Regions from separate parts of the Homo sapiens genome. Here regions 2, 3, 4, 5, 6 and 7 are each linked to region 1. Evidence: promoter capture Hi-C in 16 types of primary human blood cells and fetal thymus (Javierre and others, 2016). All regions are on one chromosome and are shown on one strand. The core of a region is centred on a gene start or on the middle of the fragment in contact, and the rest is flanking DNA. Distances in the headings are between cores, read along the strand shown.

Region 1 (4,381 bases), core at 684-3,183:
ACCACTCCCACCCAAAGCTTGGGCAAGGATGGGGGTAAGGAAGAAGAAAAACATCTGCACTCCTGCTCAGAAAGCAGCAGCAGGGATTCTGCGGAAGTGCTGCTTCCCCCATGTCTGTTGGGTGCAGTGGGAGACCGCCCATAAAAAAAACCAAGCTACTTTGGGGATAGCCTTGCTCCCTCTCATCCTTGTGACCAGGCAAGGGCTGCCCTGCTGACCTCTCTGGTGTCATCTTCAAGATGCTGAATTCCAAAGAGCCCTACCACCCTTGTCCTCCCTCCCTTTCATCTCAGAATGCAGATCAGAGGCCTGAGTGAGCAGCAGACAACACTTGTAGATGGCCTGTGGATGCTGGAACCACAGGCCGCTGAAGGCTCCTTGGGCTTCAGGAGAACCCTCAGAGTCTAAACAGCCTGGGAGGAAGAGGCAGTGACAGGCATTGAGTCAGCCACTCCAGACATGCCAATCACTAATGCACAGCTATATGACATCCATTCAGTCCACCTTCCTCCATAAGGTGGCCTTGCCCCCCTCCTCAGCACCAAGGAGTTTGGGGCTTGAGGATTCAAAACACTGGCCATCTCTCTCATACTTTATGACTGCAGACTTTTTGTTTAGGCCAAGTTAAAAGGCACTGTTAAGGAGCACACTGTTAAAAGGCACACCTGATTTTCCCTGAAACAATCTCTGTACATGCTGAAATAATTGGATTCCCATCAGAATTCTGCTTAAGGTAGGTGACAACTAACTCCTGATTCTTTGGAGAAAGATCAGAACAAATGTCTCATCAGGAGAGAGATTTGAACAAGTCCCTCCCTCAGCCTGATGTTTGTCTTCCCAGTCTGTGGCAAAATACATACACTGGGAGGGAAAGAGGCATCGAAGAATTGTGAAAGAAAGGAAGAAAGGGGGGAAGGAAAGAAGTAAGAAAGGAGAAAAAGAGAAGATGCTATATCCACCAGCTACATTTACTCTAATACTTGATGAACATATTACATAACTATCAGTATAAGTGTGTTTTACCTCGTAAATACAAATCTCACACCTTGTACATGTGCATACCTGTGTTTCTGAGCAGCACACATGCACCTGGTATCTCACCCATCTCAAGGACAGCTCCTCTCCATGACTTCCATATGTGACCCCTGTGCACACACATACACAGTCCCGCAAAGTCCCGGGCAACAGCCCCGCCTGTGTTAGTGCAATAGCTGAGGGGCATCTACTTGGTGCTGTTAAAGCACACATCCAACCTTCACTCCAACCCCGTAGGATTAGTACACGGATTCCTGGTTCCTAGATCCACTGGTAACGCAGGGAGAGGCAGAGGTGATTCAGGCGGCGCCCCTGACGACTATTTCCAGAGATCCTCTCCCCTGCCCCATTCCAGCCCAGTCACTCTGAGAGCGCGAGGGACAGGCCAGGCCGAGGCTTCTTCGTACAGTCACACCCGTTTCTGGGCTGACTTTCCCAAAGCCTCAGAGCAGCTCTCCCCACCCTACCCCGTCCAGCCCCCTCGCCGTCTCGCCCCTCCCCAGCCCCGAGCTAGAAGTTCAGCCTCAAGACGGCAGCAAACGGCAGAGCAAAGGAGTCGTTTTCTTTCACCTGAAAGCCGCGAGGAGGCTTGGAGCGCCTTTCCTCGCTGGGGCCCGAGCTTCCTGGGCTTTGGCCGGGTGCGGGCAGACCCCACCGGGGTCCTCGTCATCTCCCAGCCCAGCCCGCAGAGCGAGTACCGGCAGATTTCAAGGGCGCGTGAGCCTGGCTGTCGGCTGGGCCCCTGAGGCTCGCTGGGCGGGGGCAGGCCGGTCCAGGCTGTGCGGGGCGTTTACAAAAAGTGACTTGGAGATGAACTCGCCCGTGCGCGGCTGGCCGCCCCGCTATAGGGGCGAAGGCGCCTGACGCAAGCGGAACTCGGTGGAGCCCATACGAATCAGAACAGAGCGAGGCTCCTGGCGCACTAGGGACTCCAGGAGGCAGCTCCGCCAGAGACGCGGGTCGTGCTTCGGGAAACCGGGGGGCGGGGGGAGGGGAAGAGCGCAGAAAAGAAAACCCACCAAGGCGGGGACTGGCCTGAGCGGGGAGGGGCGGCGAGGCCGGAGCCCCTCTCTGTTGGGCGGACTCCCCATGGCCAGAGGCTGAGCTCCACTCCCGCCGGCCGCTCCCTAGGGGAAGGGGAAGGAGAGGGGAGAGCAGCGACAGGCCTCCAGCAAGCAAGCGCGGGCGGCATCCGCAGTCTCCAGAAGTTTGAGACTTGGCCGTAAGCGGACTCGTGCGCCCCAACTCTTTGCCGCGCCAGCGCCTGGAGCGGAGAGCAGAGGCGGCCCGGCCGCGGCGCGCCGGCTTTGTCATGATGGCCAGCTACCCCGAGCCCGAGGACGCGGCGGGGGCCCTGCTGGCCCCAGAGACCGGTCGCACAGTCAAGGAGCCAGAAGGGCCGCCGCCGAGCCCAGGCAAGGGCGGTGGGGGTGGCGGCGGGACAGCCCCGGAGAAGCCGGACCCGGCGCAGAAGCCCCCGTACTCGTACGTGGCGCTCATCGCCATGGCGATCCGCGAGAGCGCGGAGAAGAGGCTCACGCTGTCCGGCATCTACCAGTACATCATCGCGAAGTTCCCGTTCTACGAGAAGAATAAGAAGGGCTGGCAAAATAGCATCCGCCACAACCTCAGCCTCAACGAGTGCTTCATCAAGGTGCCGCGCGAGGGCGGCGGCGAGCGCAAGGGCAACTACTGGACGCTGGACCCGGCCTGCGAAGACATGTTCGAGAAGGGCAACTACCGGCGCCGCCGCCGCATGAAGAGGCCCTTCCGGCCGCCGCCCGCGCACTTCCAGCCCGGCAAGGGGCTCTTCGGGGCCGGAGGCGCCGCAGGCGGGTGCGGCGTGGCGGGCGCCGGGGCCGACGGCTACGGCTACCTGGCGCCCCCCAAGTACCTGCAGTCTGGCTTCCTCAACAACTCGTGGCCGCTACCGCAGCCTCCCTCACCCATGCCCTATGCCTCCTGCCAGATGGCGGCAGCCGCAGCGGCTGCAGCAGCTGCGGCTGCAGCCGCGGGCCCCGGTAGCCCTGGCGCGGCCGCTGTGGTCAAGGGGCTGGCGGGCCCGGCCGCCTCGTACGGGCCGTACACACGCGTGCAGAGCATGGCGCTGCCCCCCGGCGTAGTGAACTCGTACAATGGCCTGGGAGGCCCGCCGGCCGCACCCCCGCCTCCGCCGCACCCCCACCCGCATCCGCACGCACACCATCTGCACGCGGCCGCCGCACCGCCGCCTGCCCCACCGCACCACGGGGCCGCCGCGCCGCCGCCGGGCCAGCTCAGCCCTGCCAGCCCAGCCACCGCCGCGCCCCCGGCGCCCGCGCCCACCAGTGCGCCGGGCCTGCAGTTCGCTTGTGCCCGGCAGCCCGAGCTCGCCATGATGCATTGCTCTTACTGGGACCACGACAGCAAGACCGGCGCGCTGCATTCGCGCCTCGATCTCTGAGAGCCCACCGCATGCCGGTGCAGACGGATGCGAGGATGCAGGGACGCGCGACGCCGGCCCCGGTCGCAGCCGACGACGCCGCCGCCAGCCTGACCTCACACCCTCTGGGCCCGCCTCTGGAGCCAGCGCCCAGGGTCCCTCTGTGCTTTTTCGCTTTCCTAAGCTCCTGTCGCTCCTCTTTGTCCCCTCAGTTTATGTCCTCCTGTGCTCACCTCCCTGACCTCTGTGACCTTGCACTCCCCTGGCCTGAAGCTGCCTCTCTGCGCGCTTTCTACTGGGCTCGTCTCTTTCCGGAGCCCCAGCGTCTCCTGCCCAAATTCACCGCGGAAAGGGCCCGGGGCGGAGGTGCGACCGGGCGTCGGCAGCGCAGACCTCTTGGCCTTCTCTCACAGGTCGGTGCGCTCGCTCTCCGCGTTCCCCGCCCGACTGCCGTGCAGTCCATGGCTAGACGCGCCGGACAGGACTGATGGCGGGACCGCGCTGCCCGAGAAAGGGACGGACCAATACGTGTGTTTGCTCCGCGAACCCTCTTGAAGCTGTTCAGAAGCCGCTTGCCGCGGGGCCCACTAGGCGGGGCGGGGGTTGGGACCCAGCGGGAGCCGGGGCAGCCTGGCTCCACGGCCTGTACTCGGTTTACACCGCGGGCGGGCGCGGAGGGAGGCTGCGTTTCCTCCGCTATCAGTCCCGTCGCTTCGGGCACCTCCGGGCCCCGGCGGCTGGCTAATGTTTTGTTTGAAAGATCGGTGGAACTTTTTAAGAGAGTATTTAAAAAAAAAAAAAGGAAAAAAAATTCACCGGGCAACCGGGGAAGTATTGTGGCCTTGGAGTTTGCTAAATCCAAATATGAAAATCAAAAGCTTTAGTATTCCTCATCTTCTCTTCTGGAAGATTTGCGTTAGAGTT
Region 2 (4,381 bases), core at 1,336-3,835, 490 kb after region 1:
CAGCTCTCCCCCCGGCACTGGGCTTTGTCAGCAACGAGCATGACCACCATACTTCCAAGACGAGGCACAGACATGTAAATCTATCCTGCAGCCCAGAGACTTCCCTCCCTAGAATGTGCCCCCTCCTTTCTCTCCCTTCCTGCCCCTACTCACACAGCCACACAGAGTGGCCCTGAGGCCAGGCCTGTTGTTCATGCCCCATAGCAAACTCTGGAAGTGGGTCCTTTCCCTTTACACGTGAGGAAACTGGAGCTTACAGAAGTCAAGTCACTGGCCCCACAGCACAGGGTGGAGCTGGGCATAGGCACAGGAACTGGAGGAAGCTGGCAATACTCACAGGGGTGAATGAATGCTTATGGCAGCTGAAAAACATTTTTTTAAATGTTCATGGGTGTGTGAAGAAAGGGGGTGTGGTGAGCGCACTAGGTCCTGGCCAAGCCCAGGAGGGTCGTGTGAGGAGTCCTCTGTGACCCCACGATGGTCAGGAGGGGACATGGGAATGGGAGAGCAGAGGGAGGGGGGTGGCCAGGACATGAAGAGTGCTGAATGCCAGGATCAGGAGGCAGGTGTTTCTCCTGCAGGGCTGGGACATCTGTTCAGCCTGCAGCTTCCCCCTCCAGGTTCTTCTGATATGGTAAATATCATTTCTTAGGATTGCTTGCCAGCAGTGCTACATCCCATAGACCAACGGTCCCCAATCTTTTTGCCACCAGGGACCAGTTTCTTGGAAGACAATTTTCCCACAGACCGGGGGTGGGGTGGGAAATGGTTTTGGGATGAAACTTTTCCACCTCAGATCATCAGGCATTAGCTTCTCATAAGGAACATGCAACCTAGATCCCTCACATGCGCAGTTCACACAGGGTTTGTGCTCCTATAAGAATTTAATGCCGCTGCTGATCTGACAGGAGGCGGAGCTCCGGCAGCTCCCGGCTGCTGACCTCCTGGTGTGTAGCCTGGTACCGAGAGTTGGGGACCTCTGGCATAGAGACAACCACCAGAGGAGCAGCCTGACTGAGCAGGCTCTGCTGTGAACACAGCACCCTGCAAGCTTCTTGGCTCCTAGCCTGCTGAATTCTTCAAAAGCCAACTGAGCCATCACCTTTTCCTGGAAGTCTTCCCTGACTCCCACAGCCCCTCCACCCCTCCATTTCTGAACTTGCATTCCTCTGCCATCATGCACGCAGATACTGCCACGTTGTCATCCACCAGTTGATGTGTTCCTCCCACAGGAAGGGGTGCAGCCACACCCAACTCTATGATGCCCAGCACACAGCACGTGCTCAATAAGTCACAGGTGAATGAAACAAGAAATGAATGCATGAACCAACAGATGCTGGCACAAGCCAGTTTGAATGGCAGAAATCCCAATCTCCAGGGCTCAGGCCTGCCTAATCCACCCCTGCCCAGGGGCTAGCCAGGAAGGGCTGGCAGACAGCTCTCTCAGCAGGCTGGCCTATACTTGGACACCTGCTCGTTGCTGGGAAGACCGGATGCCAGTGCCTCTCATTTACTGGGTCACAGTGGTCTCTGGCTGAGGGATACATTTTGGATGATCAAAAGATTCAAGTCACTAGGGGCACTTCGAGGCAGGAGGCGTAGGGCACCAAGGCTGAAACAGGAAGCCCAGTCTAGAACAGGGACCATGACATTAGGTGTGCTGACACAAACTTCATTGGCCACAGACCATTTCATCCTGGGACACCTGCTGATCTTCACAGAACTAGCATGGACTTGTAACACTGAGTGCCATAACAGCCAATTAGTGGAGAATATAAAGCGCTAGGCGGCACTGACTATCCAAACTGTGAGCGTGTGTTCACCGGCTCTGAGGTTAGCAACTATGATTTCCATCTTTGTATCTGTCTGGCTACCACCATGGCGTGTCTTCAAAGTTTTCCTTAAGAAAAGTGGAAATATCTCCCACCTCTCCTTTCTGTTCCCTCTGAGCCAGGCTTCCTTGGAACCTGGGGAGATGATGGTACAGGGATGTGGGGGAAGGGTGTCTACTGAGGCTGACAGGCTGGGAAATGCAGGTGGTGGCGGGAGGGTGTCCCCCTGTAAGGTCCAGTGGGATCTCTGCAGTCATATGACTGACCTGGGTGGGAGAAAGGTGGGAGGAGAGGGAACAGAGAGAAGACTGCACAGCCAGTCCAGGCTGACCCTCCCGAGACACACCCACCTTCTGTCCAAAGTAGAGCTTGGTAAAGGTAAAGGTCCTCAGGTGGATGCTCTTCTCTCGGATCTTGGGCTCAAGTTTCTCCCGGAACTTGCTTTCCATGATCATGCTTAGGTAGGGCCAGGTCTGAGAGATGATCTGTGAAGACGGGAAGAGGCTCTTGGTAGTCAGGTCTGTACCCCCACTGCAGACCCACAGCTGCATGGGACAAGGTCCTGATTCTCTGCAGCCTGGTCTTGGGGTGGGGGTTCCTATGCTGCAGCACTCACCTGCTTGCCTGCCCACCCATCTGCTCACCTGTTCATCTGTCTGTCCGTCAAACATCTGATAACTACAGCCGTGGTTCCCACTGTCATGCAGGCAGCAGGACCCCAAGATTTGGTGCTATTCCGCAGAGCACCAAGAAATACTCATTCACTACATTTATTATTAGAAAGCCCTTTAGTTCTGTGCTAAAACATAATCTCATTCTACACTGTGGTTTAAACAAAAAGTAGCAGATGCCAGAAGTTTAAGAAAAAAATTACAGAAGAGAAAGTTAAATTGTTTCCTGTGGATTTCATTTTCTAGCAATCAGAAAAGGCAGCCTTTGCCCGATTTCTGCAGCAGAATGACTCACTGTGCTGATTTGGGAATGAAGTGCAGGACCTGGGGAGAAGGAAGATGGCAGAGACAGGGGAGGATGGTGGAAATCAGAGGGGAATGGAGGGCGGGCCAGCCAGCAGGTACTTTCTGTTTGGGGCAAGGCTTCTCCATCTTCTTTTTCTTTTTTCTCAAACGGAGTTTCGCTCTTGTTGCCCAGGCTGGAGTGCAATGGCACGACCTCGGCTCACTGCAACCTCCACCTCCTGGTTCAAGTGATTGTCCTGCCTCAGCCTCCCAAGTAGCTGAGATTACAGGTACCTGCCACCACACCCAGTGAATTTTTTTAATTTTTAATTTTTTTTTTATTTTTAGTTAGAGACAGGGTTTCACCATGTTGCCCAGACTGGTCTTGAACTCCTGGCCTCAAGTGATCTGTCCGCCTTGGCCTCTCAAAGTGCTGGGATTACAGGTGTGAGCCACAGCACCTGGCCTTCTTTTTTAAGACAAGGTCTCACTCTGTCGCCCAGGCTGGAGTGCAGTGGCATGATTACAGCTCACTGCAGCCTCAACCTCCCAGGCTTAGGTGATTTCCCACCACAGCCTCCTGGGTGGCTGGGACTACATGCGTGCACCACCACGCATTTTAATGTTTTTGTAGCGATAGGGTCCCCCTGTTACCCGAGCTGATGGATGTTGATCCAAGATTGCTATTTTCACATTACCAGACGTGTCATTGCTGAGTGCATCAAAAAGCATTCCCTAGCCAGGCATGGTAGCACACAGCGGGGTCACAACTCCTTGGGAGGCTGAGGCAGGAGGATCGTTTCAGCCTAGGAGTTCAAGGCCAGCTTGGGCAACAAAGCAAGACTCCATCTCAAAAACAACAGTAACAGCAAAAGAACAGAGAACATTCTCAGCCTCTGGGTAAATTTGGAAGAAGCAGGTTGCTGCTTTAAGAGGAGTGACTGGGTTTCTGGGGATTCATGCAGGACCCAGCGCCTCTGGGCAAACCTTGTAGAGTTCCTCCTGCACTGTGTTAGCTGGTTCATGCACCTCTGCCTGCGTTACATCTTTCTTTCAGTAATACACAGAGGCCTACACAAGGCGTTGGAGATACAAGACTGTATCTTTCCTGTGGGCTTGGGCTTCAGTTTAAATATGCATTTCCTTCCTCCATGTGCCCCTTCCAAAGCCATCATTGGAGGAGCCTAAAGGCTGTGAGATTTTAGGGCTCATTGTTCCCATCTCTCTCAAAGGCCTCTCCAAACCCCAGGTTCTACTTTCTTGGGTCTGGTCTCATCTTCCTGTCTTGCTGGTTTGTCACTGGCCAAGTGCCTCCTGAGTTTAAAGCTTGTTAGGACACACTCGGTGCCCTAGTATGTGGTTTACCTACACAACTGTCTCTGTCTCCCCATCCAAGATGAAGGTGGGAGCCTCATATCCCAACAGTCTTATATCTCCAACGCCTTGTATAGGCCTCTGTGTATTACTGAAAGAAAGATGTAACGCAGGCAGAGGTGCATGAACCAGCTAACACAGTGCAGGAGGAACTCTACAAGGTTTGCCCAGAGGCGCTGGGTCCTGCATGAATCCCCAGAAACCCAGTCACTCCTCTTA
Region 3 (4,381 bases), core at 1-2,500, 480 kb after region 1:
CTCCCCAGCTCTCGTTCCTCCACTTGCAGGAACTGCAAGCAGATAAGAGGGTGGCTTATGAGCTGAGTCACCACTTCCACAACCTCAGCCATTGTTTCCCGTTCCCCCTTTCCCCTCAGTTGTGAATTATAAAGACCCTTCCTAGGGAACTTCCATTTCCAGTAATACATATGGTGTTCCAAATATTCTGAAAAACTTGTTAGAAATGCCAAATAAAATGAAGCAAACATCCTTTGAAATGCATAGCCAAATTCACAAGAAAATAAGGATAATTCTGTTAAAAAAAGAAAAAATCTGAAAAATAAGTTAAGCTTTCCTAGGGTTGTATATCAACCTTGGAATTCAGGGAGTTAGAAGAGGCTGTGAGGCTAGGAGCTGAAGGGAAGACCCATGAAGGTGGGATCTCTTTAGTTAAAAAAGTAGTTTAGGATAAAAATTATTCGGCCTACCAGCAAAGACTGATGACAAGAACATGTGTTTGCCACAGCCTGTACTCTGGTTGAGGGGATAAAGTCTTTCCTAATAACATGGCACCTCATAGGCCTGTCCTCATATGAATTTTGAGTATAAATATGAGCTACCTATGGGATCTTGAAACCCAAAGTTAAGAAATATACACAAAAATGGACTCAAGTTTGTAATGCACCTGAGGTACTGAGCTGCAGCAAAAGCAGAAGCTCCTTGGAAGAGAACAACCTCGATCCAGGTCATAAAGGAACACTGAACATATGTTTGCAATCCAAGTTATAAAACAGAAATGAGTCACCATCAAAAAGCATCAACAGACAAAACAAACATCAAAATTTAACTCCCAAGATCTTCAAATAATAGAACATACATATTAATACATTGTAACATATTTTCAAATGACCAAAGATGGAATATAAACATGAGAAGATAATAAAATTCTATGAGAAAATACCAAATAGATTTGGAAAAGATAAAAATAGAAATGAAAAACCACCATTGAAAAAACTATGAACAGGTTAAACAGCAAACTAGGCATAGCCAAAGAATTAGTGGCCTGGAAGATAGCTCTTGAGAGAATTAGAATGTACCACCATGAATACAGAGAAGGGAAATATTTAGTTGAGGTCAAGAGACATGGAGGATAGATGAGAAGGTACATTATAGAAAATTCTAGAGAGAGGAATTTAAGAAGAATGGAGGAGAGGCAATATTTGAAGAGCCTGTATCTCTTTGAATATTGACTTGCTCCCATTCAGTATTTCAAAATTGATGAAAAACATGAATCCATCTCCTGGCTTCTTCCAGGCACACAGCAGGTGCTTAGTGCTGGGGCAGTACACCTTGCTCCATTGCCAGAGCTCTATTCCTCCCCTCCCCCAGGGGACCGGAGAGATTTACCCGAAGCACCAGCCTCATGGAGATGAGGCTGTCCAGGCCTGAGTGGTCCAGCTGAAAGCGCTGCTCAAGAGTGAGGTCAGCATAGGGGAGGATCTGGCACAGGGGGACCTCCAGCATTCCCAGAGCACACTCCTGGTCATCATCAAGCACCTGGGCAGTGGTCCAGTCACAAAACAAGAGGATAACCAAGCCCCACCACTCCACTACTAGTATCTGAGCCCCAGCCAAGTTTGGGTTTACTTCAGTCTGTACTGTGCTTCTATGGGCATCTGGTCCTATTCTGAAAACTAGAATGGGATCAGGCCAGACCTGGTCCTTGTCTTCTGTCAGGGAAGATAGTGACTCAGAGTAGAGGCAATTATGATCTGTATGAGCTAGTCTGTCAAATGCCCAGAGCCAGGGGGCTTTGGGGACTGATGAGCTGTGCTGCTCTCCAGGCAGGGCTCAGGGCCCTAAAAGATCCCAGCTCCACCACTTGTTGGTCATGAGATCTTGGACAAGACATTGTTTTTGCCTCTCTTTGCTTACTCTACAGATCTTTTGTGAAGATTAAATGAAACATATATTTTTTAAAGTACACCATTATTAATGTCCTGTGTAGATAGGCTGCTCTGGGTACTGTGTAGCAAATATAAAGACCCTTTTGCAGGGAAAGTCAAGGGACTTGAGGATTTATCCTCCCACATCCCCCTATACAGTGACCTCAGGCACTAGCCTTAAGGAGATGAGGCCTTGTGGGGCCTCAGTGTCCTCTCTTACATACAAGGGGCTGACTTTAAACGCTGCCAGGAGAACCTGCTCAAGGTGCACTTCAAGCTTCCCAGCCCGCCTGGCTTAAAAACCTCTTAACTCTGTTTCAAGAGCCCTTCTTCCATCAAACCTTCAGATGGAGCCGCTCAGTGGCCACATTGTGCACAAAGAAGGAGAACACCTGGCTCCACACAGGGTCCTTGTTGTGGGGACAGGTCTGGGAACAGAAGAGGGAGAGATCATTGAAGGGTTAGGTTGGGCAGAGCTGGATACCGGCACCCTCTGCTATCACTCTGGCCACCAGGTACCATTGGGAACCTTACCTATATGCCCTGGGATCAGACCCAAACACGCTACAGCTAGTGGGAGGCACTAGGACGGGACAACACTCAAAGGCAGGGAGTGGTTTGCCAGGAATTTTTACGGGGGAGCTGAAAATCATATTGGCCTTAGAGCTCACTTCAGGAGAGGAGAGGCCAACAGGATTTCTGCTGCTGGACTGAGAAAATTCATGATTGGTGGAAAGGACATGGGCTTCAGAACCATGCCCAAGCTTGAACCCTAGTTCTGTGTCCTTGGTCAAGTCATTTATCTCTGATCCTCAGATTCTTGAATTATAAAACTATTTTGTGAGGTTATTCTGAAGACTAAATAACATCAAGTGCCTACTAGGCATTCACCATAAGTTAATTCCCCTCCCTTTTGCCTCTCTCCCTGAGAAGGGCTGGGTCCTTGTTTCCTTACCCCAGGGCTACACACCAAGCTGTCTTACCTTACTTGTATGTGTCTTCTTGCCTACAGATAGTTTGACATAGGAAGAAGGGTCTTTGCTGACCTTGTTCTGTGAGGAATCAAATCCATAACAGTGAAGGTGGCATAGTCAATATCAGCTTGAGACAGTCCTACCCCCAACCCCCAGGAGCATCTGGGGGAACTGGGGCCACCCAGTTACTTCTCTTTGAGAGAAAGCTACTCTAATGCCCCAGTCCCCCTGGGCTGTCATTACTGTGCGAGCCCCAGGACAGGACCAACCCCAGAAAGCAGTTCCAAGTTAAAAGACCAGAAGCCAGAGCTGGGCCTGGCCAGGCACAGGCTCTCGTTCCCTGGGGCTATGAAAACAGTGTGGAATCTGGCTCCTCCTCTTAGCTGTGTGACCCAGAAAATGGTAATAAAAATGAATGACACAGTCATCATGAGACTCAGGGATAACAAATGTGGGGGATGAGTTGCCAAGCCTAGTGCCTGGCACACAGTAGACTCCACAATCAGCACCTCTTGTTATCCCCAGGCTGTGTGTGCACAGACTGTGGCCCAGAAGACATGGGGTTGTGGTTACTCTGGGGAGAGAAGCTGTGATTTGCCCTCCCTGGAGTTTTTAGCCACATACTCACTCACTCTGGCAAACCTGGAGAGTTTTTTGGCTCGATATTCACCATTCAGGTAGTCAAAAGGGTTTCTCTGCAGCACAGGAATAACGGGGTTAAAGCAACACAGGACAATTTGAAAGTGATGGGCACTTTGTTGCGTTTGTGTGACACTCTGGACATGTCGCCACTCACCGGCAAGTTGCAGGCACTCTCCAAGAAGACCACGAGAATGGCAGTGGAAAGGCCACCATGGTCCTGCAAACAGACACAGACCCTCACTGGGTACTCCCAGCAGCAGGACACAAAGACTGATTTTGGAGAAGCCTACTCATGGCAGAAGAAAGCCAGCTAGCCTTCACACTCCAGACTAGCTGCCGGAGGACCTCTCACAACCTAGCATTTTGTTGAGGTTAAGACTATAACTGGTGCATGACAGATTCAAGTTAGACACTGAGTGGATTTCCCTATGAACTGGGAGGACAGGCATTGACACAGAGTTCTAAGGACCCCATCATCTAAAGATGATGGAGATGCTCAGAGGACATTTGCTGAGAGCTATCAGGAGCTGCCCTGTGTGGAGACGGGCTGAGTGACATGTTCTTCAGGAGGTGAGCAAGAAGGGGGCATCATCTCCCACCCTTCCTCCACCTGCACACACCTGGCACGTGTGCTCCTCCACCTTTCTGCAAGGGAGCCCTTGACACCCCACACTCACCTCAGTCAGAACTTCTTGGTCAGTAAGCAATGAAAGCCACTCCAGCCGCAGGTGCAGCCGCCCGCTGGTTGTGTCATTCAGGACAAACCACTGTGGGGTAGGGGCAGAAAGCTCAGGGAAAAGGGCCAGGGAGATGCTACTGATGCTCTCTGGGCAGCCCAGTCCTGAGACCTGGCATCCT
Region 4 (4,381 bases), core at 847-3,346, 440 kb after region 1:
ATCTCACCTTCCTAGTTTTATAGATCATTTATTGAATAGCTGAGCAGTTAAACCTGGTAGTTTAGTGACTGAACTGGACTTTCACTCACATTTTATTGGGTACACATAAGATTTTTAAGTTTTAGATTATTCATTTTTTTAAAAATTAAGATATTTTATTTTTTCTAGGCTGCTATTTCTAACTTCTCCTAAAAAGTCAGAAGATCTGGCAACAAATTCCTGCATGGTTATTATCACAGCAGAATTAGGCCTTTCCCTTGTCAGATATGAGCATGTGTTCTATAGTTAGCAGTCCCTATTCATCCTTACGTCACTCATTTATACTCGTACCTGAATTCTCTGGGCATTTGTGTTTGCAGTCTCTAATACGCTACTTTTTTCTCTACTTTATTGAAATAACATTTTATCATAGATCATATTCATTTATATGCACAGATTTGTTTTTAGATTCTCTAGTCTGTTGCATTTCTCAACTATTTCCATATTTTAATTTCTATAGTTAAAAGTTTTAATAGCCTTTGAGGCAAGTATCCTATCATTAAAAAAATTTTTTTTATTGGCTATATTTTTAGCACATTTATTCTTCTGGATGAACAGTTTTTCAAATTAAAAAATAAATCTCATTGAGATGAACTAAAATTGAATTGACTTTATAGATTAATATTTGGAGAAATGACACCTTAACCTTTTTGAATCATCACATTCAGAAATATGTACTTTCATCAGGGTCATCTTTTATAGTCTTCAATAAAGTGTTGTGTATTTTTAAATTTAGCTCTTGCATATTTCTTGTTAGGAAATACCTTGTTATTTCCTAGGTATTTTATAACTTTTATTGCTATTGTAAATGGGAACCAAGCACCTTTCTGAAAACTGTTTTGTTTTAGACTTTCTTGTACCAGTATATAACTGGATTTCATTTTGTTTCTGAGACTCAATTTGAGAGGCTTTGTCCTTTAAAAGGGGAATTCAAGCCGGGTATGGTGGCTCATGCCTGTAATCTTAACACTTTGGGTGACCGAGGCAGGAGGATTGCTAGAGGGCAGGAGTTTGAGACCAGCCTGGGCAATATAGTGAGACCACATCTCTAGAAAAAAAAAAATTTAATTAGCTGGGCATGGTGGCTTGTGCCTGTAGTCCTAGCACTTGAGAGGTTGACATGGGAAGATCACTTGAGCCCAGGAATTCAACGCTGCAGTGAGCTCCGTTCACACCACTGCACTCCATCTTAGGCTGCAGAGTGAGACTCTGTCAAATAAATATATAAAACAAATATACATACATCAATTTGAAGTGAAATATTGAATTATACTAATTTGGACTTAAAAAGCTTCTAAATAAACATCTGAAGTAATAAACATCTTAAGTCATATTACCAGGAGGCCTATTAGTTATATCTTGAAGTATGACCAGGGACAAAGATTCAAGAGCAAAATGCTATCTTTATATTGTGAAACTTTTTATTAAATAGGCTGAACTTGATGGTGGTAATAGGAAATGGCTTTATTCTTCTCTCTTTAAACATGCTTTTTGAGGTCTCCCTTTTTTTCCTCGGATGATATGTAAGGTAGAACCCATCACTTATGGGGAGAGGGTTATAGTCAAATAGTATACTATCTTAATATATTAAGATACCTAAAATTCAATCCAGGCATCAATGATATTATTTTTGGAGACAGGGTCTTGCTCTGTTGCCCAGGCTGAAGTGCATTATCATAGCTCACTGCAGCCTTGAATTCCTGGGCTCAAGTGATCCTCCTGCCTCAACCTCCCAAAGTGCTGGGATTACAGGCATGAGCCACCACACTCAGCCTGGGGATTGCTGTTAATTTCCTTAAATAGTCTGATAATGTTCTTGTGAGTTTGTAGGAGAATATGCCTACTTTTAAAAGATGCATGCTTTATTATTTGAGGGTGAAGAGTTTCTTCAAATGGTTCACCTAAAAATATAGATAGTGAGCAAATATGGCAAAATACTAACAATTTTTGAACCTAGGTAGTGTTTGTAATAGTTAATTTTGTTTCAACTTTACTGCGGCATAGGATGCCCGATATTTGGTTAAACATTATTCTGGATGTGTCTGGGAAGGTGCTTCTGGATGAGATTGACATCCGAATCAGTAGACTTTAGTAAATCAGACTGCCTTTCCTAATGGGGTGGGCCTCATCCAATGATTCAAAGCCCTGAGTAGAACAAAAGGCTGAATAAGAGGGAGCTCCTCCTCCCTGACTGCTTTCAAGATGGGACACTGGTTTTTTTCTTGCCTTCAGACTCAAACTGAAACATTAGCACTTGCAGGGGTCTCAGTCTGCCTGCATTTGGACTGCAAATACCCATTACCTTTTCTGGGTCTTCGCTTACTCACTGCAGATCTTGGGACTTGTCAGTCTTCATAATTGCATGAGCCAATTCCTTATGATAATTTTCTTTGTATATTTAATGAAATATGTGTATATAATATATATAGACATAAAGCACTCCTTTAAAATATATAACTTTGTAGGCATAGGATAAATATTTTGACTATATACACTATGTTTTTTTAAAGGTGCTGTGTAGCATCAATTCAATTATCCACAATCCAAGAGCTCCAGTAATAATTTATAAACAGACCAAAGGGGGAGTCCAAAATTTTAATAAAGATCTTGTTCAAGATTGTGGATTTGAGCATCTTGTTCCTGTAATAGAAATGTGGGCAGATCAACTGACATCCTTAAAGGTAAGGGGTTGACTATGATTATATGCTTTGAACATCTATTGGACTCTATGTGCTTTATTAATAGGACTTAATTCAGGGCTAAAAATTAAATAGGGTTTAATTTTTTTGTTTGTGTGTTAACTCTAAAGCTAAAAAAGCTTATTATCTAAAACCGAAATCTTCCTACTTACATATCTATTTTAGGTACTGTCTATTTGATGTTGTCATTACTGTAAGCTTTACCTCCTCTAAGATTCTACCAAACAAGAAATTTTGGGGTTAGTTTCCTTATTGAAAATCTATAGTGGATCCACTTTGTACTTCTAGGCCCTTCCCTGTTCTACCTTCATCTGCCTCCTTTTCATATCTCCATGCTGCGATTTTCCTGGCCCTTATCCCTCTTCAGATATAATGTCTTATCCTTCATTTTATTATAATTGGGGATATTTTCTCTCTCTTCACACTTTATTTTCTGTCTCTCAGAACTGAGCTTATCTCCATTTCTGCTTATTCTCTAGAACAGATAGTAAGCTAGCAGCCAACGCTACCCTTCCCTATCCTATCTCTTCATGGAAGACCACATTTTATTTATAGAGTTATTGTGTATTTATTGCATAGCTTCAGGTTTTTTCAGTTTTTGTTAACTAGTTTGCTGAAAGGTAAATAGTTGAAATCAGTAGTATTTAACTTCTTTGCCCTTTACACTTTAGATTTATTAGTAACTAATATAATACATAGCATATGCCTGTTAATGAAAATGTGATTCAATAACAGTGTTTGCAACATAAGTCTTATTACATGAAGTACAAATGATGCAGAAGATATCTGTTAAGAATGTATAAGCTCCATGAAGACAGTGTTTTTATTTGTTCTGATATGTCCCCAAGATCCTCCTGATGAATGAGTGCTCAATTAATATTTGTTAAAAGGAATGAAGCAGAATATTATATTCCAAGACAACAAAATTGGGGGTGGTGATGTTAATTTTTTTTAAATTTCGACTTCCCTTTTTATATAGGGCTCAGACAGAGCTATACAATACATAAACATTTTGATTGAGTGACAGTGCTAGATTAATATACTTACTTTATAGACCGGAGTTCCTCCAGTCTGTATCTCAGAAGAGTGTAAAATAATTAGTAATAGTGTAAATCATGGTATTTCCTCAATCACTGCCTGTCAGAGGGTTCTCCCAGTAGGAGGAAACAGTGCTGACTCCACCTTTCTTCATCTCAGAAGGGATGGACTAGAAAAAGCCCTAGCCTTCCTAGAAGAAAAGACTAGAAGAGGAAGAAGACAAAGGGAAGAATCACACTAATGGATAGTTATTGATCGTTTATCATGCTAAGCCATTATGGGATGAACACAAGATTCAGACTAATTAGACAAAATATACTAAAAAATATGAAACAAAATGTAATCATTTATATCGTTAAAGGAAATGAGTGACATAAAAATAGATTACCGGTTGAAGTTCTGAGTGAATGATGCAGATAACTTGTGCTCTAGAGTCTGGAGGAGAAAGAGAACACTCTGATTGTAGCCCCCAAGAAGGGCTTTGCCATGGTGGTGAGTTCTTGCTATTGTATGGTTTTCTGAGGAGGAGGAGGAGGCAAGGAATTCGCTTTATAATTAGAATATTCTGAGGACACCCAAGAAGAAATTATTAAGAATTAGTTACT
Region 5 (2,838 bases), core at 36-2,535, 400 kb before region 1:
AATCAACAATATAAAATGCAATCATGCATATGAGATCAATGATAATTTTAAACCTCAAAGACTTGGCAAGGTTTGATATTTCCTTCACTAATCACTGCTGTGCATCTGACAATCAGAAATCTAAAATGAAAGTATTCAGTAAGTACCAACTATGGTGCTAACGTGAGTTCGATACGAAAAAAGCTGAGATTCATCTATATCCATTTTAGAGGAAAGAAGTGCTATGACCTTTCCAAACTTTCATTTCTCTATCCCAAAGTCTCATCTAAACAGATTTTACTACTTTATGATCTATGTTTAAAGTCCTTGGGATAAAAAGAACAAACCCAAGAATGAGGAGTCTTACTTCTACACTTTTATGATTTCTTATATTGGCATTAGACATAAACATGTCTGAGAGGCTGTCTGGTCCAACTGTCTCTGGTCACTTCGATCTTCCAACTGCCAACTCCCAGGCCATGGGATCACTTCCTCCTCTAAATTCTACCTACTTTTTATACCATTCAACTGGAAATTTACCCCACACAAGATTTTTGGCATCCCTCAGATATTGTTATATAACTGGAAAAGGGCAGGAAATGTGGATTATAATTTTTTGCAATACCGGGAGTGGCATACATGGAGCTTTGCACATTGCTGATAATTGATACACACCTGATTAATGTATAAATTAACCAAACAGTACTGACTCTCAAGTTTTCAGAGGTGTAGGAGTCTCTAAATGTGTTCTGAAGATAACATAGATGAAACTTCCATCAACACTGCCAATCGAAAAAAAAAAAGCACATGCCAACATAATACAATTTTTCCTCAGAAGGATTTTGGTAATTTGAGAAACCTGAATTCCAAGTTCCTTTCTCCTTTTCAAGTTACAAAATGCTTCCCAACCAACATGCACAGCACTGCAAACATATATTAAAGCATCACAAAACAAAAACTGTAATTAAAATTGAAACTCTGTGACTCATGTTCATTATGTCAAATATACAGATGGCTGGTGTTGAACATAGCTCAAATCGTTTTCTAACCATAATCATGTATAATAAAAGATTAATATGGAGTGAACCTTCTCCTAAACTCAGCATTCTATAGTGTTCTAACGTATTCTGTGGGCTGAATTGTAAACTATTCTCTTTTTATTCTTTACTTGCAAAGGCTCAAATACAAAGCTTACATATTTCTAAAATGCCAGAGTGTTCTTTTAAATTTGCAATCAAGTAAAGAGGAGCCAGAGAATAACAATCACAACAGAAGAAGTGGTGATGCCTGAAAATTATCTGAGAAACATCTGTCATTCTTACTGAAAATTCTGGAAAGCGAAAATCCTTTATGATGCCTGAGTTTCTTGGCATCATCAAGGAATTTATAAGACAGAAACATTCTATCTTCTCAAAAAGCTTCAGCTAAAGAAATCCATCTAACTTAGGCGAAAAGAGTCTCCTGCTTCCATTGCCTTGTAGATTTTTGTCCATTTGTGGTTTGGGATGGGTTTCTGTCTGTATCTGTGTACTCCTTGTTCTGCCTCAGCACATCTGGAATCTGGAAAATACTGTGCCTATTATCTGCTGAGAAATGGTAACACCATGATGTGGGGCTGGTCTGCATTTCTCATCCCTCATATAGTATATCTTCCAGAAGGGTCTCACCCAGTCAGAGGAAATCTGGTTTGGACGCATCAGAGACAGCCAGGTCACATCATCTCTCAAGCCCTTCTCCACATAGTATTTCAAAGAAAGATCATTTTGCGATTAGACATATACTCACCCGGTGTGGTATGCTATATGATATATCAGTAAACACATATTTGGTTGTTTCTGTTCCTTCCAAAATCTTATCTTCAGCTAACACATCATTTATTGGTACTCGCTCTTCCAGAACTGGTGGCATTTTTAATCGTACTTTAGCTGCCTCAACTGCCTGTCTTGTAGCCTAATGAAAGAAAATATTTATTAAGGAAAGCCACAAGGTTACATAATATAAGGATCATCTGACAAAAGCACATACTAATAAAAAATGCAAAAACCTGCATAGAAAAGAAGGTGTAGCCACAAATCAGTGAGTAAAAAGCCAAACCTGGACTTGTGAGCCCTGGCCTTTGCCTCTGCGATGTGGCTGAGACCACCAGCTATAGACTCAACCGTTATCAAAACCACAAAGGCATGCTCTGAGACAAAGCCAGGCTACAAAAGCTGCTTGAAACAGAATAAAAGAATGCAGTTTTGGGGTGCTTACTATGTGCCAGATAGTGTTCAAACAGTCTAAATGTATTTGGCTGATTTAATGGCCTCAATTACCTTATGAGTTAGGTGCAATTGTTATCATCTCCATTTTACAGAAGAAAAAACAGAGGCATACAGATGTTAAGTAAATTGCTAGAAAATTGCAACACTGGTATTTGAACCTAGACAACCCAACTTCAAAGCCCATTCTCTTAACCATTGACTACATTGCTTCATGCCATACTGTTAAAAGCAGTTACCTCTAGGAGGTGAAAAGATGGACTTTTACTCTTCATGTAATCTACTACTGGAGAGAGATATATATATTTTGCTGACTATAAATTACTTTTGAATCAGAAAGACGAGTATTAATGCTTTACGTATTCATACATCAAAGTGTTTTCCACGCAGCACTCAGTACCCATGGTACTGAGGACACTGGTGCCTGGAAAACATGCTGTTTCCATGCAGGATCTCACAATCTCCCCAAAGCTTCAGCCCCAAGGCAGATCACAGTAGATGTTTCTCCAGGAAGGAAGCTGGAGCAGGCAGAAAAAAGGAGGGGTGCTCAGGCTGCCTTGAGAGGAGAGAGGATACTCTCTGAACACCCAGACCTGAT
Region 6 (4,381 bases), core at 856-3,355, 360 kb before region 1:
GCTAACAGGAGACCCAAGCTGAACCTTGACAGATGAGTAGCAGTTCTCCAAATGGACAAAAAAAGAGGGGCCTTTCTCATGTGAGCACATCTACTCATTCTTCAAGATGCAGCTGTGTCTTCTCCTCTGGGAAAGGACCCCTCTTGTTGGGCTGGCCACTCCACACTGTATATTGTATGCTCCCTCCCATGACCATCCTCACATCAAAACCCATTTCCTGGTTAATTTATCTGCCAGATAGTCTAGACTAGGGGTTTTGGAGAACTGACATTGTTTCTTCTCTCCTGCATCTCCCGTGCCCAGCTCCCAATCTGCTGAATGGCAGGTTCATTAGGTGTTTGATGTTGTTTTTAAGCTGAGCATCACTGTCATCAGCAGGCAAGAGCCGAAGCAGCCATGTGGCGTTATGAGAGCCACGCCTGAACCATACCCACCAGGCCCCTGTTGCTTTAAGCATCTGAGCCCTGAAGGAGTCTGAGTGGGATTAACCCCTGGATCTCAGCCTCATTCCTGCTTCGTGGTTTGGTGGTGGTATTGGGAGGGGCTACTCAATCAAGGAGGAAATATGCTTGGAAATGAAAGCACTTCCCTTTCTGATCTGACTGGCTCTACCTTGCTCCCTGCCTTCTTAGTATGCATGTATTCAGCCCCATTTCAAGACTTACCCTCAGTATCTTCCCCACCCTTATGGGCTGAGCTGGGCTTCCTCGCTTCACCTCCCCCACCCCTGCTCCAGTCCTCTCCAAAGACAAATTGCTTACATCTGTCAAGGCTTTTCTGATTAATAGAGGAATATGCTGTGGGATGTCATCAGGGGTTCAGAGGCTTTTGATCAAAGGGGGAGGGGGAGCCAGGCCACACATCCCTGCTGGTTCATTTATCAGGTCAGTTTCAGCACCTTTCCTCCCAAGTGCCCTGACAAAGGCCTCCTCACCAGCCCACCATCAGCTCATGTGCTCCCTATGGGAGAGGAGCAGAGAGGAAATGGTGTTCCAGTAAGGGGACAGTGGGGAGCAAGACACAAGGAGAGAGGGAGAGGAGCAAGCTGGGGGGCCACAGCATGGGCACTGGTCCTCGGGGCAGGGTACTTGAAGTGCTTTTCATTCTACACAGCCACGGGGACGAACACATACCAGGCAATTCCCTCGAAGCATGGAAAGGAAAGAAGGAAGGAAGGAAGGGAGGGAGGGAGGGAGGGAGGGAGACCTTTGGATGACTAAACCAAAGAGAGAATGAGGGACTGAGGGATCTATAAAAGAATGAATAAAGGAGGGGGAAAATGATTGAATTAATGAGTCAGTAAATGTCTGGATGCAGTCATAAATTAATGATTTACAGCAGTCCTTACAAGAGTGGGACTTTTTGCACAGACTCATCTCTCATTTTTTCTTCAATTCAGCCATTGGTTGGTGTTAAAAAGACCCAGCTTGGAGGAGCAACACTAAGGCAAGTTTGAAGTAATTCAGGCTTCACCTCCACCCCAGCTTCTCCCATCCAAGGGACCCTCTTCCTTTCCTTTTGGCCCACTTGGCATTTGTTAATAGGCCCTGTGAGCTGGGCAAGAGCAAATGAGGCCTGGAGTGGTTGGGGGACTCACACAGAGGAAGGGGCAGCACAAGGATGGGGCCTGCCTCTCATCTCATGCCTTTTCCTGCAGAGCCAGGTCCCTGAGGAGGAACTGGTATCTGTCACAAGCTCTGTGTGTCCTCAGGCTGCAAGGCTACTGCCTACTGTGTCCCTTGAAGAACACCCCTATTGGGAACTTTACAATGGGAACTCCAAAGAGCCATGTAGGGTTTGCTTTAGAGGCTGCTACACTAGACTCTGAGGATTTAGATTAACCTAATTTAATGACACGGATGACTGCCTGGCTTGAAGTTCCTTGCTACAATTTTTTTCTTTCAACTCGCTCAACAATTATTTCCCTCAAGTTGGTTGCAGATGCAGCCTGCCTGGGAATTATAATCCATTCCTTACTGAGCAGCAAGGAGGCCAGGGAGATGCTGGCCCCATCTACATGCACACCACCCAGGCACGGGGGCTGGTGGGCAGGCAGCACTGTGGGCTGTGTCTGTGCCACTGCTTAGAACTTGCAAAAAAGGCCTGAGTCTTGCTAGGCTAGGCTGGCTGTCCTGGGACCCGGCAGGCAAGAGACTCCATGGAGACACAGCTGGCTGGCTCCTGACTGGGTGGTGGCTGTCTCTATCCCCTGCTCTTAGCTCAGAGGGAGCATCCCCACACAGACACGCAACACACACAGTCATGCACAATCACAAAAGACACATATGGACTCATCCAAGATGAGATGCACATGGACACTCAGTCACAGATGCACACAAACACACACATCTAGATACGACCCCCACACAGAGGTACTGAAAGACACACACATACCCCCAGACACACCAAGCTCATCCACCCCAGTATCCCACTGTCCTTAGCCTGGAATCTGATTCAACTCGATCCAACAACCACTTATGGAGTGCTATCTGCATGCAAGTTCTCAATGAGCAGACCCAGAAATATTCATGGCCTAGGACTGAAGATCACAGAGACACATAATTCATTCAGCCAGTGCTTAGCAAATGCTCCAGTGTGGAAGGCTCTGCAGAGGGCAGTGGAGGGCACATGAGTCCCTCCTGTGTTCACAGATCTCATGACAGAGATAAAGGAACATCCATCCTGGTTATCACCCAAAAGCAAGGTTTTAAAGAAGGCCTCCTCTGGGCTGGGCCCTGGAAGATACTGCCTGCACCTTCCAGAAGCCCACATTCAGCTGGGGAGGCACACAGGTAAACAGGCCATGGCACCACCATATTCCAGGGCTGTTACAGGGGGCTGTAGAGTCCTGAGGAGCCTGAGGGTTCTTGGAGGGCTTCCTGGAGGAGGTGAGGGACTAGATAAAAATAGCAGGATGGGCACTCCGGGTATGAGAAGGGGCTCAGGCAAAAACCCAAGGCCACCAGGGAGAAGCTATGTTCAGAGAAGGGCAGTTCATAGAGTGGGACTCGGCCATGGGGAACATCTAAAGGAGTCAAATGCCAGCCTTGCTGCCCTAGCAAGTCAGCACCAACTTACAGGTAACAATGCTGCTGTAATTTGCATTAAAAACACCTTTCCCCTGGAGTAGGAAGCTGTTTCAGGATTTTCCCATGCTGCCCAAATGCATTGGCCATGCTACTGACCCCCATCTCGCCCCTGGCCCCCTCCCCTGCTGGTTTCCAGTACTTTCAGAGGCTGCTACAGCCCAAGAGAAAGATGTGCTCTGGGATAACTCCTCACTGCTGTCTGTGGGCCACCGCCTCATACCCTGCCAGTACCTAGGCCCTGGCCTGGAACAGGATTTCTAAGGCCACAGTCTTGATTTCATTTGTCCTGGGTAGATGCAGGGGCTTGGCCAGTTGTGAGACCCTATACAATGATCAGTTCTTAGAGAGATTTGTCACCTAGAAAAGCCAGATAACACCCTGAGCAGCCAGTTCCCAGGGACATGGCCCTGGCCCAGGTTTTCCCCCTGGAGTGCCCCCTCCCTTCATTCTTCCCCATTTTTCATCCTTCCTTTCAGCTGGCTAACTCTAGCCCTTCCAGACCAAGCTGACATGTCACCTCTCCCAAGAAGACTTTCTGAGCCCCCATCCCCAGTACCCCAGGGGAGTCAGACACACTTTCTCTGTGCTCCCCTCTATGGCCCTTATCAAGCAACACAGTCACTGTCTGTTTACTTAGTGATCTCCCCAGAGATCCCGACAGCTCTTCCTGTGGCCCGGACTCCCCACAGAGCCTATGCACCAGCTATTTATTGCTGCCTAACAAATTATCCCAGAACCTAGTGACTCAAATCTACAATAGTTATATTTTACCTCCAAGGTTTCCAGAGGTCAGGAATTTAGCACAGATGGGACACTTTGTCCACAATGTCTGGGCCTGAGCTAGGGTCTGGGACCATCTGAAGGATCATTCACAATGTGTGGTGGTTGATGCTGCCTATTGACTGCAGGACTACCTGGGCCTCTCCATGTGACCTGAGCTTCCTCCCAGCATGGCATCTGGGTTCCAAGAGCAAGCATCCCAAAAGAGAGTGTGGGGTTGTGGGGAGAAAGAGAGAGAGAGGGAAACAACTGGAATCTGTATCCTTTTTATGACCTAAAATCAGAAGTCATATAATAGCACTTCTACCATATTCTATTGGCCAAAGCAGTCATACACACCCATCCAGATTCAAGGGGAGTAAATGCAGGTCCCCCTAGGTGGAAGGAGTGTCCGTCACCCTGCAAGAAAGGCATATGGGGTGAGATAAACATAGGGCATGGCTATCTTTGGAAAAAATAATATGTCACAATCTGTTACCAATAGATGCTCAACGAAGGGCTGTTGAGTGAAT
Region 7 (4,381 bases), core at 495-2,994, 290 kb after region 1:
TTGATGGTAAGCATTTATTTGTTTAAAAAATTACTAAAGGCTGTGTGTGGTGGCTCACGCCTGTAATCCCAGCACTTTGGGATCCCGAGCCGGCCGGATTACCTGAGGTCAGGAGTTTGAGACCAGCCTGGTCAACATGGCGAAACCCCGTCTCTACTAAAAATATAAAAATTAGCCAGGCATGGTGGCAGGCGCCTGTAATCCCAGCTACTTGGGAGACTGAGGCAGGAGAATCACTTGAACCTGGGAGGCGGAGGTTGCAGTGAGCCGAGATCGCCTCACTGTGCTCCAGCCTGGGCAACAAGAGTGAAACTCCATCTCAAAAAAAAATTATTGAAAAAATTTTTGTAGTTAAAGTGGCCTGTTCTTCAATATAAGAAATAGTATTTGGGATACATTTGTACCTAACAGAAGGAGCGGATAATGTACTGGATGTATTAAATTTAAAGATTACCAATGCTATTCATATCCTTTGCCCACTTTTTGATGGGGTTGTTTGTTTTTTTCTTGTAAATTTGTTTGAGTTCATTGTAGATTCTGGACATTAGCCATTTGTCAGATGAGTAGGTTGCGAAAATTTTCTCCCATTTTGTAGGTTGCCTGTTCACTCTGATGGTAGTTTCTTTTGCTGTGCAGAAGCTCTTTAGTTTAATTAGATCCCATTTGTCAATTTTGGCTTTTGTTGCCATTGCTTTTAGTGTTTTAGACATGAAGTCCTTGCCCATGCCTATGTCCTGAATGGTAATGCCTAAGTTTTCTTCTAGGGTTTTTATGGTTTTAGGTCTAACGTTTAAGTCTTTAATCCAAAAGAAGACATTTATGCAGCCAACAGACACATGAAAAAATGCTCATCATCACTGGCCATCAGAGAAATGCAAATCAAAACCACAGTGGGATACCATCTCACACCAGTTAGAATGGCAATCATTAAAAAGTCAGGAAACAACAGGTGCTGGAGAGGATGTGGAGAAATAGGAACACTTTTACATTGTTGGTGGGACTGTAAACTAGTTCAACCATTGTGGAAGTCAGTGTGGCGATTCCTCAGGGATCTAGAACTAGAAATACCATTTGACCCAGCCATCCCATTACTGGGTATATACCCAAAGGACTATAAATCATGCTGCTATAAAGACACATGCACACGTATGTTTATTGCGGCACTATTCACAATAGCAAAGACTTGGAACCAACCCAAATGTCCAACAATGATAGACTGGATTAAGAAAATGTGGCACATATATACCATGGAATACTATGCAGCCATAAAAAAGGATGAGTTCATGTCCTTTGTAGGGACATGGATGAAATTGGAAATCATCATTCTCAGTAAACTATCACAAGGACAAAAAACCAAACACCGCATGTTCTCACTCATAGATGGGAATTGAACAATGAGAACACATGGACACAGGAAGGGGAACATCACACTCTGGGGACTGTTGCGGGGTGGGGGGAGCGGGGAGGGATAGCATTAGGAGATATACCTAATGCTAAAGGACGAGTTAATGGGTACAGCACACCAGCATGGCACATGTATACATATGTAACTAACCGGCACATTGTGCACATGTACCCTAAAACTTAAAATAAAAAAAAAAAAAAAGATTACCAATGCTAAAAAAAAAAAGTTGGGATGAACCCCACTTGAGTTATTTTCTCTTTTAGAACATCATACCTAATTATATATGGGAGAAGGGAGAACAGTCGTGTGAGTAATAGCATTCTGGGGTACCTAGGGAATCTAGACCATGTTGTTTATAAAGTACTTAAGTTTTCAAATGAAAATTTCATTTTTCAGAGTGACATATTTGTAAACACTTTTTATGTTAAGCAAAAACAGATGAGATATCTTAGATAATTTTTCAGTTTAGCCCCCCTAGGAATTCCCACATTAGAGGCATACTAGAATGAAAATCTCTCTGGGTCACTGTGTGAACTTTGGTTCTATGAGGGACCCACAGTTTTGTATCTCCTTGGAAATCTGGATTAGTTCTGGCTTGGGCTTTGAGAGTTGATGTGGAATGAATTTGTAATGCACTATAATACATGAATGCACCATGTACGATTGAGGAATCTCGTGTCCATACTTAAAAGGAGTCCCTTGGACTTCCGTCCAATCACATTAAACACTTAGATTTATCTCCATTTTCTTCTTTTACACCTCTAAAACAATAATAAGGAATTAAGAAATATATAAACTCAAGAAGTCAAAGATGATAGGAAAATAGGCCACAGTGGGTGAAACCTATTACCAGACTTCGGGGTGATAGAAAGTGAGATAGAGAAGTGGCAGTGACTTAGCAGAACTGAGAAAATAGAAAGTCAGTACTTGTAAAGGGGTACGCAAGTCCCATAAAAGCTCTGGAATCAGAGGCACCATGTATACTGTTCAAGGAGGGATACAGAAAGAGGCTGAAACAGAACTAGTTGGCAGCTTATATATGGAACAGTTAGGCACTCAAGTCCCCTTCCCTATGCCAAGAAGGAGATAGATTTATTCTCTGAAGAAACTGGTTCTGACTCAAGCACACTTATTTCTACAGAGACTACAAGAAAGGGTCCCATATTAAAAATGGAGATGGAGTGAAAGTCGGCGTAGTAAATGGTACAATCTGCAGCCACTTCCACTTGCTTTATTCTAAGAACAGTGGCAGCCAGATGTATAGTTGACCCTCATCAAAAGACTAGGTGATTCTATTCTAGAAATCTGATTGGTTCCATTGAAAAGTCCTGCAGATCTGACAGTTGAGATTTCTCCCTAGTTTCTATACAAGGAAGTCCACCAATCAACAAGCAAGCCTACCATGTACATAGAATTTTCATTCAGCTTTTTAGTGATTCATTGTTAAATATGAATGGTCAGCTAAGGATTAATATACTTTTAAAAAATGACAAAAATTGAATATGTTTATCATGTACGACATATTGTTTTGAAGTATGTCTTCATTGTGGACTTGATAAATTGAGCTGACCTGTGTGTTACCTCACATACTTATCTTTTTTTGTGATGATAACATTTAAAACCTAGTCTTTCAGCAGTTTTCAGGAATACAATATATTGTTGTTAACTATAGTTGCCATGTTGTAAGACAGATCTGTTGAACTTATTCCTCCTAAGTGAAATTTTGTATTATTTGACCAGTATCTCCCCAGCACCTGCAGCCACCATTCTACTCTCTACTGGATTAGCAGACATTTAAGGGAAACCTCTACCATGAAAGATAGAAACCAAATAAGCAAAATAGGGAAGAAAAGAAAAGAACTCTGGGAAAACAGGGTAACTGCAGTAAACAGAGGGTGATTTTAAAAATCAAAGCAAAAAAATATATTGTATCTTTAAAGTAATAATAGGATTCTGTTTTTTACAATCAGCACATAGAGGTCTTGAAAATTAGAAATAGGAACAAACAAAAAGTTAAAATAGAAATAGTGTAAATATTTTGTGGCAGGCATAGTTGTAAGTGCTTTATATATAATCTAATGCCTTCAGGCCTGATGACAACCTTATAGAGTGGCGGCAATAGCCCCATTTTACAAGTGAGGATATTAAGGCAACAGAGAGTAGACATATCAGGATTTTAACCCTGGCAGTTTGGCTCATATTCTTTTTTTTTAATCCACCATGCCTTAATATCTCCAAAAAATATGATAAATAGAGAGAAGATCCAGAAACAATAGAGACTCAGTCCAGGGAGGTATACTCTCAGCCTAATGGATATTCCAGAAAGAAGGAGAATGGCGTGAACCTGGGAGGTGGAGCTTGCAGTAAGCTGAAATCACGCCACTGCACTCTAGCCTGGGCGACAGAGCAAGACTCCGTCTCAAAAAAAAAAAAAAAAAAAAAAAAAAAGAAGAGGAAAGAAGGGCACTTACTAAGCAAATAATATACTAAGACATTTCCCAGAGCCAATGTTCATGAATATCCAGTCAAAATAGCACAAAAATTTTCTGAGAATGGAAGAAAAACACCCTTACTAAGTACCTGCACTATGAAATTTCAGTGCATCAGACGTAAAGAGAAAGTCTTAAAACTTTCGCAGAGACACAGCAGGCCACATACCAGAGTTTAGAAGTCAAAATGACTTGGCTCCTCAATAGCTACATTGGCAATTATAAGACAGTGCACGTTAGCCTTCATAATTTTGAGGGAAAATGATTTCTAACCTAAAATTCGATAACCAAACTTTTTTTTTTTTTTCTGAGATGGAGACTTGCTCTGTCGCCCAGGCTGGAGTGCAGTGGCGTGATCCCGGCTCACTGCAGCCTCCGCCTCCTGGGTTCAAGTGATTCTCCTGCCTCAGCCTCCCCAGGCAGCTGGGGGACCACAGGCATGCGCCACCACGCCCAGTCAAGTATAAAGGGTAGAATGAAGACATTT

What was found. Contacts are between HindIII fragments. The CHiCAGO score rates a contact against its expected background, and 5 or more counts as called.
Region 2: a fragment that was not itself captured here is called in contact with the fragment with the promoter of FOXL2 in region 1 in 1 of 17 cell types (megakaryocytes); the score reaches 5.5 in megakaryocytes.
Region 3: a contact is called between a fragment that was not itself captured here and the fragment with the promoter of FOXL2 in region 1, in 3 of 17 cell types (erythroblasts, megakaryocytes and M0 macrophages). The highest score is 9.2, in erythroblasts.
Region 4: a contact is called between a fragment that was not itself captured here and the fragment with the promoter of FOXL2 in region 1, in 1 of 17 cell types (megakaryocytes). The highest score is 5.6, in megakaryocytes.
Region 5: a fragment that was not itself captured here is called in contact with the fragment with the promoter of FOXL2 in region 1 in 2 of 17 cell types (megakaryocytes and erythroblasts); the score reaches 5.5 in megakaryocytes.
Region 6: a contact is called between a fragment that was not itself captured here and the fragment with the promoter of FOXL2 in region 1, in 4 of 17 cell types (megakaryocytes, naive CD4 T cells, endothelial precursors and 1 more). The highest score is 6.3, in megakaryocytes.
Region 7: a fragment that was not itself captured here is called in contact with the fragment with the promoter of FOXL2 in region 1 in 1 of 17 cell types (neutrophils); the score reaches 5.4 in neutrophils.

The regions. Positions count from the first base shown.
Region 1 is chr3:138,944,689-138,949,069 of GRCh38, reverse strand. It overlaps FOXL2 (forkhead box L2), which reads left to right and starts at 1,933. Exons shown (of 1, transcript NM_023067.4): 1 at 1,933-4,381. The coding sequence starts at 2,348. The coding sequence ends at 3,478. It overlaps FOXL2NB (FOXL2 neighbor), which reads right to left and starts at 1,853. Exons shown (of 3, transcript NM_001040061.3): 1 at 1,606-1,853. The coding sequence starts at 1,705. RefSeq lists a silencer at 1,689-1,917 and an enhancer at 3,958-4,381. The HindIII fragment of the contact is 4,318 bases long and covers 20-4,337 here.
Region 2 is chr3:138,453,130-138,457,510 of GRCh38, reverse strand. ESYT3 (extended synaptotagmin 3) reads right to left here. Exons shown (of 23, transcript NM_031913.5): 3 at 2,183-2,317. Among named protein-coding and RNA genes, the nearest start is that of ESYT3, 21 kb to the right of the region's middle. The HindIII fragment of the contact is 3,063 bases long and covers 1,054-4,116 here.
Region 3 is chr3:138,468,014-138,472,394 of GRCh38, reverse strand. ESYT3 (extended synaptotagmin 3) reads right to left here. Exons shown (of 23, transcript NM_031913.5): 12 at 4,201-4,290; 13 at 3,678-3,740; 14 at 3,514-3,576; 15 at 2,891-2,959; 16 at 2,249-2,335; 17 at 1,369-1,518; 18 at 1-32. Among named protein-coding and RNA genes, the nearest start is that of ESYT3, 36 kb to the right of the region's middle. The HindIII fragment of the contact is 1,873 bases long and covers 314-2,186 here.
Region 4 is chr3:138,503,634-138,508,014 of GRCh38, reverse strand. It overlaps CEP70 (centrosomal protein 70), which reads left to right. Exons shown (of 18, transcript NM_024491.4): 13 at 2,550-2,720. Among named protein-coding and RNA genes, the nearest start is that of ESYT3, 71 kb to the right of the region's middle. The HindIII fragment of the contact is 1,527 bases long and covers 1,333-2,859 here.
Region 5 is chr3:139,347,251-139,350,088 of GRCh38, reverse strand. MRPS22 (mitochondrial ribosomal protein S22) reads right to left here. Exons shown (of 8, transcript NM_020191.4): 3 at 1,765-1,929. Among named protein-coding and RNA genes, the nearest start is that of MRPS22, 4.6 kb to the right of the region's middle. The HindIII fragment of the contact is 228 bases long and covers 1,172-1,399 here.
Region 6 is chr3:139,305,633-139,310,013 of GRCh38, reverse strand. No RefSeq gene overlaps it. Among named protein-coding and RNA genes, the nearest start is that of MRPS22, 36 kb to the left of the region's middle. The HindIII fragment of the contact is 5,231 bases long and covers 1-4,381 here.
Region 7 is chr3:138,659,339-138,663,719 of GRCh38, reverse strand. The region is part of intron 21 of PIK3CB (phosphatidylinositol-4,5-bisphosphate 3-kinase catalytic subunit beta); the gene reads left to right. Among named protein-coding and RNA genes, the nearest start is that of FAIM, 53 kb to the right of the region's middle. The HindIII fragment of the contact is 8,823 bases long and covers 1-4,381 here.